Regions from separate parts of the Homo sapiens genome. Here region 2 is linked to region 1. The links are contacts of gene promoters, found by promoter capture Hi-C in human tissues and cell types (Jung and others, 2019). All regions are on one chromosome and are shown on one strand. Each heading gives the region's core, a stretch centred on a gene start or on the middle of the fragment in contact. The rest is flanking DNA. Distances are from core to core; before and after follow the strand shown. Region 1 holds the start of PLD6 (phospholipase D family member 6). Region 2 overlaps LOC105371554 (a long non-coding RNA gene).

Evidence for each region. The method cuts DNA at HindIII sites, captures the fragments that hold promoters and counts their contacts. A contact is called where the count stands out against the background at its distance.
Region 2: a contact is called between a fragment that was not itself captured here and the fragment with the promoter of PLD6 in region 1, in 1 of the 25 tissues and cell types used here (hippocampus).

What each region holds. Positions count from the first base shown.
Region 1 is chr17:17,203,944-17,209,031 of GRCh38, reverse strand. PLD6 (phospholipase D family member 6) reads left to right here and starts at 2,699. Exons shown (of 2, transcript NM_178836.4): 1 at 2,699-3,172. The coding sequence starts at 2,746. RefSeq lists silencers at 2,391-2,440, 2,481-2,730, 2,851-2,900, 2,921-3,040 and enhancers at 1,666-2,505, 3,561-3,680. The HindIII fragment of the contact is 14,315 bases long and covers 602-5,088 here.
Region 2 is chr17:16,540,252-16,545,589 of GRCh38, reverse strand. LOC105371554 (a long non-coding RNA gene) reads right to left here. Exons shown (of 4, transcript XR_007065637.1): 4 at 1,504-4,937. Among named protein-coding and RNA genes, the nearest start is that of ZNF287, 26 kb to the left of the region's middle. The HindIII fragment of the contact is 3,155 bases long and covers 489-3,643 here.

The DNA of each region.
Region 1 (5,088 bases), core at 1,450-3,949:
AGATGAGGAAAGTGAAGCTCAGAAGAGATGAATCAATTTGCCCTAGACCATGCAGCTAGGAAGCCTGGGAGCCAGCACTAAACTCAAGTGTTCTTTTTCTTTGTTAAGAATTTTATTCGCCAGGCACGGTGGCTCACACCTGTAATTCCAGCACTTTGGGAGGCCGAGGCAGGCTGATCACGAGGTCAGGCGATCGAGACCATCCTAGCTAACACGATGAAACCCCGTCTCTACTAAAAATACAAAAACAAAAATTTAGCCGATGTGGTGGTGTGCATTTGTAGTCCCAGCTACTTGGGAGGCTGAGGCAGGAGAATTGCTTGAACCCAGGAGGTGAAGGTTGCAGTGAGCCGAGATCGTGCCACTGCACTCCAGACTGGGCGACAGAGCGAGACTTCATCTCAAAAAAAAAAAAAAGAAGGCCGGGTGCGGTGGCTCACGCCTGTAATCCCAGCACTTTGGGAGGCCGAGGCAGGTGGATCACGAGGTCAGGAGTTCGAGACCAGCACGGCCAAGATGGTGAAACCCCATCTCTACTAAAAATACAAAAATTAGCCGGGTGTGGTGGTGGGCGCCTGTAATCCCAGCTGCTCGGGAGGCTGACGCAGAGACTCACTTGAACCCCGGAGGCAGAGGTTGCAGTGAGCCGAGATCGCACCACTGCACACCAGCCTGGGCGAAAGAACGAGGCTCCGTCTTAAAAAAAAAAAAAAGAATTTTATTGACATAATCACTGACATACATTTTTAGTTATTTACACCATACAATTTGACATATGTATATACCTGTGAAACCACCACAGTCAACCCGATAAGCACACATCCATCACTCCACTTCCTTGTGGCTTTGTTGGCCTCCAGGCTACACTGGTCTGCTTTCCCTCAATCTAGTTTGCATTTTCTAGAATTTTATGTAAATGGAATCATACAGTATGTACTCTTTTTGTCTGGCTTTTCCCACTCAATATTAATGAAATTCATCCACGTCGTAGCACATGTGAGTACTGTTTTTTTTTTTTTTTGGTGGGGGGGGGATAGGGTCTTGCTGTGTCACCCAGGCTGGAGTGCAATGGCATGATCTTGGCTCACTGCAACCTTAGTCTCCAGAGCTCAAGCGATTCTCCCACCTCAGCCTCCCGAGTAGCTGGGATCACAGGCACGTCAGCGCACTCAGCTAATTTTTGTATTTTTTGGTAGAGACAGTGTTTCACCATGTTGGCCAAGCTGGTTTCGAATTCCCGAACTCAAGCTGTCCTCCTGCCTCAGCCTCCCAAAGTTCTGGGATAACAGGCATGAACCACCGTGCCAGGCCACTTCATTCTATTTTATTGCTAAATAGCATTCCCTTGTACAGATATACAAAAGCTTATTTACCTGTTTACCTGCTGACGCCTTTTTGGGTTGTTCTAGGCACATACGCCTGCCAGGACACGTGCTTGTGTTAATGGATCCCGCCCTTTCTCCTAGGAGTGGGATAGCTGGATCATATGGAAGGTGCAAGTTTAATATTTTAATAAACTTTTAATTTAGAATAATTTGCTTTACAGAAAAGTTTCGAATATAGAACAGAGAGATCCATTTACCCCCACGCAGCTTCCTTTGTTAACCTTTTACATTCCTTTCATACATTTGTCAAAGCTAAGAAACTGACATTGGTACAATGCGATTAAGCTCCAGACTTTATTTGGCTCTCACCAGTTTTTCCGTGAATGTCTTCTTTCGGTTCCAGGATCCAGCCCAGACCACCACATTGCCCCGTTTCCCTATGCCCCCGGCCCAGTGCCCTCGGCTGCCTTAGTCTCTTCCTCTGTTTATGCTTAAAGCAGGGCAGGCCTTCCAACAACGCCGGCTGGAAAAAACCTCTTGGGCTAGGAAAAAACCTCTGGGCCGACACCGCCTCCAGTATGCTGGGTTCCAATGCTGCCTCCAGCTGTGTTGATTCCCTGATTATCTGTGTTCCCAGGTCATTCCCCAGCCCAGCCTAGCTGCTCCCGAGAAGACAGTGAAGGTGTGACCCCACATTTCCAGAGCAGCTCTGCTGTGCTCCATGCGAGGAAAGCCGGGGTTGCTGTGGCTTCTAGCGCGGAGAGCGGTCTCTGGCCTGGGCAGGTGACGGGTGTGCTAGGGCCCGTGGCCCGCGGGTGTGCAGGTGCTGCCTGGTGGCGCGGGCTTGGGGACGTGGCTTGGCACGTGGTGGGAGGTGGAACCTGGAGGGCGTGGCCGAGCGCCTGGCTGGAAGGAAAATGGGGGGCACAGCCTGGCGTTGGGGGGTGGAGGGTGTCTGTGGCAGGGGGCGTGGCCTGGCGCGTGGAGGGAGGCGTGGTCACCTGTTGAGGGTTGGGGGCGGGCTGATGGGAGGCGTGGGTTCAGCTTGGTGCGTGACAGTTGTGGGGGCATGGCGCGGCCTAGCGCGTGGCCCTCGGGGGCTGAGGGCGTGACCTTGCACGTGGCCGTTGGTGGGGCGTGACGGGGGCGTGGCCTGGCGTGTGGCCATGGGTGCTGGGCGTGGCCTGGCACGTGGCCTGGCACGTGGCCGTTGGCGCTGCGTGACGGGGGCGTGGCCTGGTGCGTGGCAATTGGCAGGACGTGATAGGGCGTGGCCTGGCGCGTGGCCATGGGGGGCTGGGCGTGGCCTGGCACATGGCCGCTGGCGGCGCGTGACGGGGGCGTGGCCTGGCGGTCTAGGGCTGGGGGCGCGCAGACTCCGCTGCGGCGGCGTGGCTGTGGGTCCCGGATTAGCGGCGGCATGGGACGGTTGAGTTGGCAGGTGGCGGCCGCGGCGGCTGTGGGCCTGGCTCTGACTCTGGAGGCGCTGCCTTGGGTGCTGCGCTGGCTGCGGTCCAGGCGGCGGCGGCCGCGGCGCGAGGCGCTGTTCTTCCCGTCTCAGGTGACCTGTACCGAGGCCCTGCTGCGGGCTCCGGGCGCGGAGCTGGCCGAGCTCCCCGAGGGCTGCCCGTGCGGCCTGCCCCACGGCGAGAGCGCGCTAAGCCGCCTGCTGCGTGCCCTGCTGGCCGCCCGCGCCAGCCTGGATCTCTGCCTGTTCGCCTTCTCCAGCCCGCAGCTGGGCCGCGCCGTGCAGTTGCTGCACCAGCGTGGGGTGCGAGTGCGGGTCGTCACCGACTGCGACTACATGGCCCTCAACGGCTCGCAAATCGGTCTGCTGCGCAAGGCAGGTAGGCCCGGCGGGGTCCAAGCGGAGAAGGCCGGCTTGGCCCACGCGGGGTCCTAGGCGCAAAGGTGGACACTTAGGGGAGGGGGTCTGGGGACGGGCTGAGGCCTCATTTACTTTCCTCGTGGCCTTGTGGGGTCGGGGTGGTGTAACGCGGAGAAAGCAGAGCCCCCACAGAAGGTCTAGCCGGCTGCGTGGGCATAAGCGAGCCGGACCCTCGGTGCCTCCGCGGTGGGGGCGGTTCTCTCAGTGAACTGTCCCGGCATGCTGGAAGCAGGTGGGCCTGCGTGTGCCGGGTTAGAGGCGGAGCAGATTCCCCTAGCAACTCCTCGGGCGCCGCCGGCGGAGTTTTCGTGACTGCTGCAGCCCGGGCCCGCCCTCCTACGCTGCCGGAGATCCCCGGACGGCCTCTGGTAACCTGGATCCTGGTGGCAGGGGAGCTGGACGCCAGGGTTGTGCTTGGACTTCCAGACTGAAGGGCTCTGGGGAGAGGCGGCCACCTGCTGCCCAGTGAATCTCAGGCCACTGGGCTCTGGGAGACCTGAACATGTTCTAGAAAGCAGCGCCAGGACATTCGGTTGTTTTCCCAGCTGCAAAAGGAGGGGAACACATATTTCTGGCGGGGGCGCCTCTCTCATGGGGTGGGGACAGAAGGGACCAGGAAATGTGAATAATTGGGATCCTTGTCCCACCTGAGGATTCTCAGTCCATCCTGGCCCAGTTCGGCGGCCCAGCCTGCTGTTGCCTTTTGTGTATCTGCACTCACAGACTCTTGGGCCTGTCTCTGTCTCCATCACTCAGGCACCCAGAAAGTCACGCCTGCACGTGCAACGGTTGGATCTGATAATACTGGTGGTCGCAGTGACCGAGAGATGTGTGGAGCCCTGGGAATTGTCCAGGCTGGGCAGTGGTCACCGCCGCGCTGTTCCTTCTGCACAGCCATAGCCTCTTGTTGACTTGGGCCTCAGAGCAGCCTCTCCAGAGTCAGCCAGGGTCCCTCCCTGCTCTGGGTGGTGTGGGGCATGTTGCACGCCATGTGGGAGCAGAGTGGGGCACGTGGTTTTCATATTGAGGATGTCTCCTTCTCTTTGGGGCAGCCACAAGAGCTGTCCTCCCATGTGTTGGTCATTTTAACGGGAGGTTTGGGGACCTCCAGGCATGCACAGTACAGTTCTGTTTGAGTTGCTTTTACAGTCGTAGAAGCTGAGGTTGGTGAAGACCCTTCAAGGGCCCCTAGACCAAGGTCCCATCGGATCCCCTCTGGGATGGCCTCCCAGCATCCTCGCTGACTTCGAGGCTGTCCAGTGGCATTCACTGTTCAAGGAATGTCCCCTCTGTGCCAGTATTTGTGAGGAGCTGGAACATCCTAGGGCACAAGGGCACAAGGCCAGGTTGCCACGGAGATGCCAACTAAGTCATGAATATTTCATTTAGGGCACTGAGAAGGGCCAAGAAAACTTCATAAAGCAGGGTAAGGAGGCAGTGGTGTGGGAGGAAGTGGCGTGGGCCAGGTCAGCTGCCCAGGGGCAGTGACACTCAGGGCAGGGACCTTGCTGACACCAGTGGACTGTTCGGAGGGAGAGGCATGCGGCTGGAAGGGGCAGCAGCACAGTCGCCCTGGGTCACAGACTGACTTCCTTTTGAGGAAGGGCAGGAAGTCCCCTGTGGCCAGAGGTGGCAGGCCGCGGGGAGGGGACGGGGAGGTGGGCAGTGGATCCCAGCGGAGGCAGGAGGTGTGGGCGATGGTGGGGTTTTACATTGCCCACCGTGTGGAGGAATGTGTTTGGAGGGCTGTGCCGACAGGACGTGCCAGAGGAGTGGCCAGAGTGTGAGAAGAAGGGCTGGCTCCTCGAGGTAAGGAAGCCACCACGTCTTCATCCTGCCAGGCCCAATTTAGGGGGCACAATTAAATATGAGTTC
Region 2 (5,338 bases), core at 817-3,316, 660 kb after region 1:
GCTTCCTTTTTGTCAGTAACTATTATCCCTGCTATAAGGATAATAATTGAGCAAAATACAACAGCAATGGAAACTCTGTCCAATATGTCAGTTAGAAGGTGCTACCACGTATAACCCTCTTGCAAATAGCAGAGTGAGTATAGCAACTTCCACAAGTGTGATGTAGTAGATAACTTCCATGTAAAATTTTACTTGCCAAGATACAGAATTTTCCTTTGGTGGTCTATGAAGCCTTGGTTTTATTTTCCCAAACAAAAAAAAAAAAAAACCTGAGTTAATGGGCATCATACTCACTTTCATTAACTGGCAGAATTTGCAGGATAATTGCCCAGAACTAGCATATTGATTCAGATTTTTACATTACCCATCCCTTTTTATTTCTTCCAAACTGTAGGGGATTACCACTTGATTCACAGGAATAAGCAGAGTTAGTATAATATGTAGGCAAAAAGCTTAAAAACAATTGATGAGACTAGGATTTAATGAGAAATGTATAGTAAGTTTTGGAGAAATGTATGATAAGCTTTGGAGCACAGTTTTTCTCTCCAGTCCTCATTTTTGATAAAAACAAATTATGATAGGCCCGTGTGTGTTGTCTGTAGAATAAACTTTAGTCCTATACATGGCCTGATTGTTTGCATAAAGTGCAGCAAGAAAGGTTATTTCTACACAGGCCTTTTGGATTGGCTTCGATGAAACTGTTCTACAAGGAATCTCAGATAAGACCTTTTAAAGCCAAGCCCAGCCATGGGTTTGTATCCTCAAATACCTGTGAGTTGGGTGATCCTCTCCTCTTGAGGCCCCAAGATAAACTCGGAGCTCCCAGACCTATTAGAAAGTGACACTCTTTACTGACCACAGGTTAGGAATCTTGTGCAGGGACTGTGCAGACAAGGTATGAGGCCAGTTCTCCCCAAGGGGCTTTTATTTGCTCTGCATGTCAAGCTTGATTCCTTAAAAGGAAACACACCCTCAAGCCTTGGTTAAAATAACCAGTTTTTCCAATGTGTCCTGTTGACAAAGAAAAATGGATTCTTATTGCACTGATGCAAAGAGCTATATTGCCGTTAAGTTAAGAGTACAGCTAGTCTCCAAATTCTAGAGGAACCAGGCAGAGACAAATAAATATGCTCCAAATTTTGTTCACAGGAGTATACCTTACTCAATTATTAAAGGCCATAAATAGTTTAAAACTTTTCTTGACTCTGAAAAACAAAACAAGGATCAGCAATATTCCAAGCAAAGTTAAAAACTCTGCTTTAACTTTCTGAGTGCAGTCCATTTACTTAACTCTTGTTTTGCTTGATATTTATGAACATATTAGTTCTTTGTGAGTCCCATACATTCTCTCTCTATTCCAATGTTACAATCTTTAAAGCTATTAAAAACCTGCATTTGAGAACACCTGTTGAACTCCTTAATAGAGCTTGATTATAAACCATTTTTTGAAAAGGAACAAAGCAGGACAACAATTGTCTGTGAATGACAAAATTTTCAGGATAGTTAAAAACATGACTGACAAAGAAGTTTATTTATCTTCATGGTTTACAATAACTTTACCCTTAATTATGATTGATAGCATATACTTAGACATTAGAATCTTAGAAATCCCATACAATTCTGAAACATATATTAGTATTATTCACCAAACTATAACTTAAATAAGATTGGACATCATTTTGGCAATCTCATGTGACTAAACATGTCAAATAATCCTGTTTACCTCTTTTCTGAATGTTTCAGGGCCCCTCTAAACCATTCAAAAAGTTAGGTATCAGGAAGGACAATTTCCAGATTGCCATAAATTATTTTGCCAAAATGATGACTCAAAAGGCAAAATCCTTTCATTAGCCTTTATTATGAAATGAAAATCTTGTTCAAAGCAAAATTTTACCCTTGCATTAGTTTATTAATGTTAACCCCAATTTGTTTACACGAAACCTTATAGATTATTCCATCAAATCCTAACCAATTTGACCATGAGGTGAAATCTTTTTTTTTCTTTTTTTTTTGAGATGGAGTTTCATTCTTGTTGCACAGGCTAGAGTGCAAGGGCATGATCTCAGCTCACTGCAACCTCCGCCTCCCAGGTTCAAGCGATTCTCCTGCCTCAGCCTCCCAAGTAGCTGGGATTACAGGCATGTGCCACCACCCCTGGCTAATTTTGTATTTTTAGTAGAAACGGGGCTTCTCCATGTTTGTCAGCCTGGTCTCGAACTCCCGACCTCAGGTGATCTGCCCGCCTCGGCCTCCCAAAGTGCTGGGGTTACAGGTGTGAGCCACCGCACCCGGCCAAGGTGAAATCTTTACAAACCTTTTATAACCCTTTTACTAAGGGGCAGATTAGTGTCTTAAGACCTCCTTGCTATGCTTTTATTTTAATGCTTAATTTATGAAAAGACCATATAGATACTATGGGAGAGGACGGTGTAGTGCTTCTACCATGCATTGCATTGCAAGGCAGCCCAAAGCCAATTGGCTTATTTTGTAATTAGCCCATCCCTGATGGGAGTCTCATCTCCCAGTGCAGGGTGAGGATGTTTCCTTATCTTCCAGGTGGCCAAGAGCATCCCTGATTTATAACTACTATTAGCCATCCCTTACAGTGTATTTTCTACTTGATTATTACACACCAAAGCTTTCTTGTAAAAATGCGAAGTAATTTCTGATACCCCCAAAACTCAAAACCATCAGATAACACAATGCAAAACAGAACAGAGCCTTTGATTTTGAGAGGGAATTATTTGCTTTTAATTCCTGGGGTTTCATGAGGAAAACAGAGGGTTTTTTCCCAAAACGGGGTCTGTGGCGCCTCCTCTGTGTTTCCTGAGGAGTCCCATGCTACCAGAAGTTATCTTAGGGCCTTTTATACATGCATTAAGAGTAGTAAGACAAAAAATGGAGAAAAATAATTCAGTCGGCTGAGATGAGCCTTTTTCCAGAAAAACAAGATTCAAGAAAAGAAAAAACATAAAGGCCTTTTAATATACCTATAACTTGATTTTCCACTTTTAATTAAGCTGAGCACTCTTTAAGAAAATTCTTCTAAATCCTTTGTTACTTGACCTTAGCCATGCCAAGCAGTTAAGATTTTTGGCTTTTGAACTTTACAATAAGTAACCTCACAGGTAAAACTAAAGAGCTTTAATTAGGTTATGACTTAACCAGGAGTGTAAAAGGTATTTTTAAAGGAGTGACAGGCAGCTTTTTTTTTTTTTTTTTTTTTTTGCTGAGACAGAGTCTTGCTCTGTCACCCAGGCTGGAGTGCAGTAGCATGATCTTGGCTCACTGCAACCTCTGCCTCCTGGGTTCAAGCAATTCCTCTGCCTCAGCTTCCTGAGTAGCCAGGACTACAGGTGCATGCCACCACGCCTGGCTAATTTTTGTTTTTTTAGTAGAGACAGGGTTTCGTCATGTTGACTAGGCTGGTCTTGAACTCCTGACCTCGTGATCCACCCGGACAGGCAGCTTTTGAAACTGTCACTGCAAAATTGTGACTGAGACAGTGGAAGAGATCTCACCCAAACAACTCCATTTTGTTTCCAGTCCCCAAACTGTCCTTGCCCATCCCCGGGCATAGGCTGAATCAAGTTGGGGAGGAGCTTGGTTTACAGTTTATAGTCTAAAACAAAGAAGATAGCAGCTGCTTCTCAAGATATACTTCCCTTTTGCCTGGGGACCAGACCAAGAAACTAGCTACAGGATTAGAAACCATGGCCCAAGAGCCATGCAATTGGAGGCTACAAGATTTTGACCCTCCCTAAACGGCTGTTATGATCAGTGCTTAAGATGTTTTGTAAACCCTGCCCTTGATGGATCAGCTGACACAGCCCAGACTGACAAACTGGCTTATCTGATTTAGCACAAGAAGACAGCCACCATTGTAAAATGGCGGAGACAAAAACAAAGTATTGCCACATGGTTACAGATTATGTTCCCATGACATGAAACAAGATGGAGGCCTGTAGCCAAGTTTGCCACTGGATACTTTGCTGGGCTGGTTTGAACAGCAGGCTTATGGGTTTCTGGGCCTGCATCCTGACCTAAGATACCTTTTCTTTAACAGAACCACACAGAAAGACATACAAAGAAGAGCAGATTGTTTACAGCTTAAGACCAACCTCACAAATCCTTTTTCATTAACTATAAATTTAAAGAAAACATAAACAATGATCTTTATTATCCCTTTTGCCGGTTTCCACAGGAAGAGAGAAGCCAAAAGCCTGACTGGTAAGAAATTTTTACCCTTTTGCCAGCATATCAGGCTTCTGGGCTGGGTTTCCTTCCCCCTAGCTCAACTCTATGCCAAACATTTTAAGGTTTGGAAAATTAACCTTTTCCATGTTGGAAGAACATTATAAAAGAGAAGCCATTTTAAACTGCAAAACAAGGAAAAACACCACAGAAAGGAGTTCCAATTAGGGTTGTCAGGAGGTATTGCCTCTTTTCCTATTGGGAATGGTGTTTCCCCTTTGCCTTCCCTATTTTTTTCTTTTCCCTTTTGGCCTTCTATAGGAGACATTACTTATCTCCAAAATTTTCTTCTGCTTGCAGAGCTGCTTATTTTACCTACAGTAAGGGTTTGCCTTAGCAGCAACATAACATCCCTTCATGAGAGGTTACATACCTGAGTTAAATATTGGAAAGCTTCCATATACTTATTAAGGTCATCAGAAAACCAGCCTAAGTCTCCCTTTACTTGCCAAAGGTCCTGCAATGAGAAGGGAACTTGAAGGGGCCCCAAATAAGGGGGACCCTCAGATGACTTCCCTGAAAGTTACTTTTTAAATTTTGGGGTACTGTTTTCCCTGGGCCTGCCTGATATGACTGCAAAAGAAAATAAGCCACTTTTTCTTCAAAGTTTCAAGGTCGAAAGAGTCCTAGTGCTTCAAAATACACTCAAGAGAAGTGCATGTTGAAGATGGTCTGTTACCCATCTAGAAAGAGAAGTGAGAATAAAAGCGTCCTTTTAGTCTCCTTCCTTTTGGTATGAAATCCAGGATGGAGAAGAAAGCAGTAGGAGGCGTCCCCCAACTATTTTCTCTTTTGTTCCTGGATTCCCAGCACTCATTTAAATGTTCCACCCATGACTGCAGGTGTGACCCTCCAAGCCATGGCACCAGAGGATCTGAGTTTTGGGCCATAGTCACGCTGTTCCCAAGCAATCAGTTCTCTGCCTTTTATTTACCTTTGACCTCCTAGACTTGGGTGGCCTGTGTGCCTCCCAAAAAATGGATTTGAAGAAAAACCATGTAATTGGGAAGAGACCCTTTAAGGGAGGGGATGTGATAGATTGAACTCTATATCCTGCCATTATAGCCCATGCTAAAGCATTTAC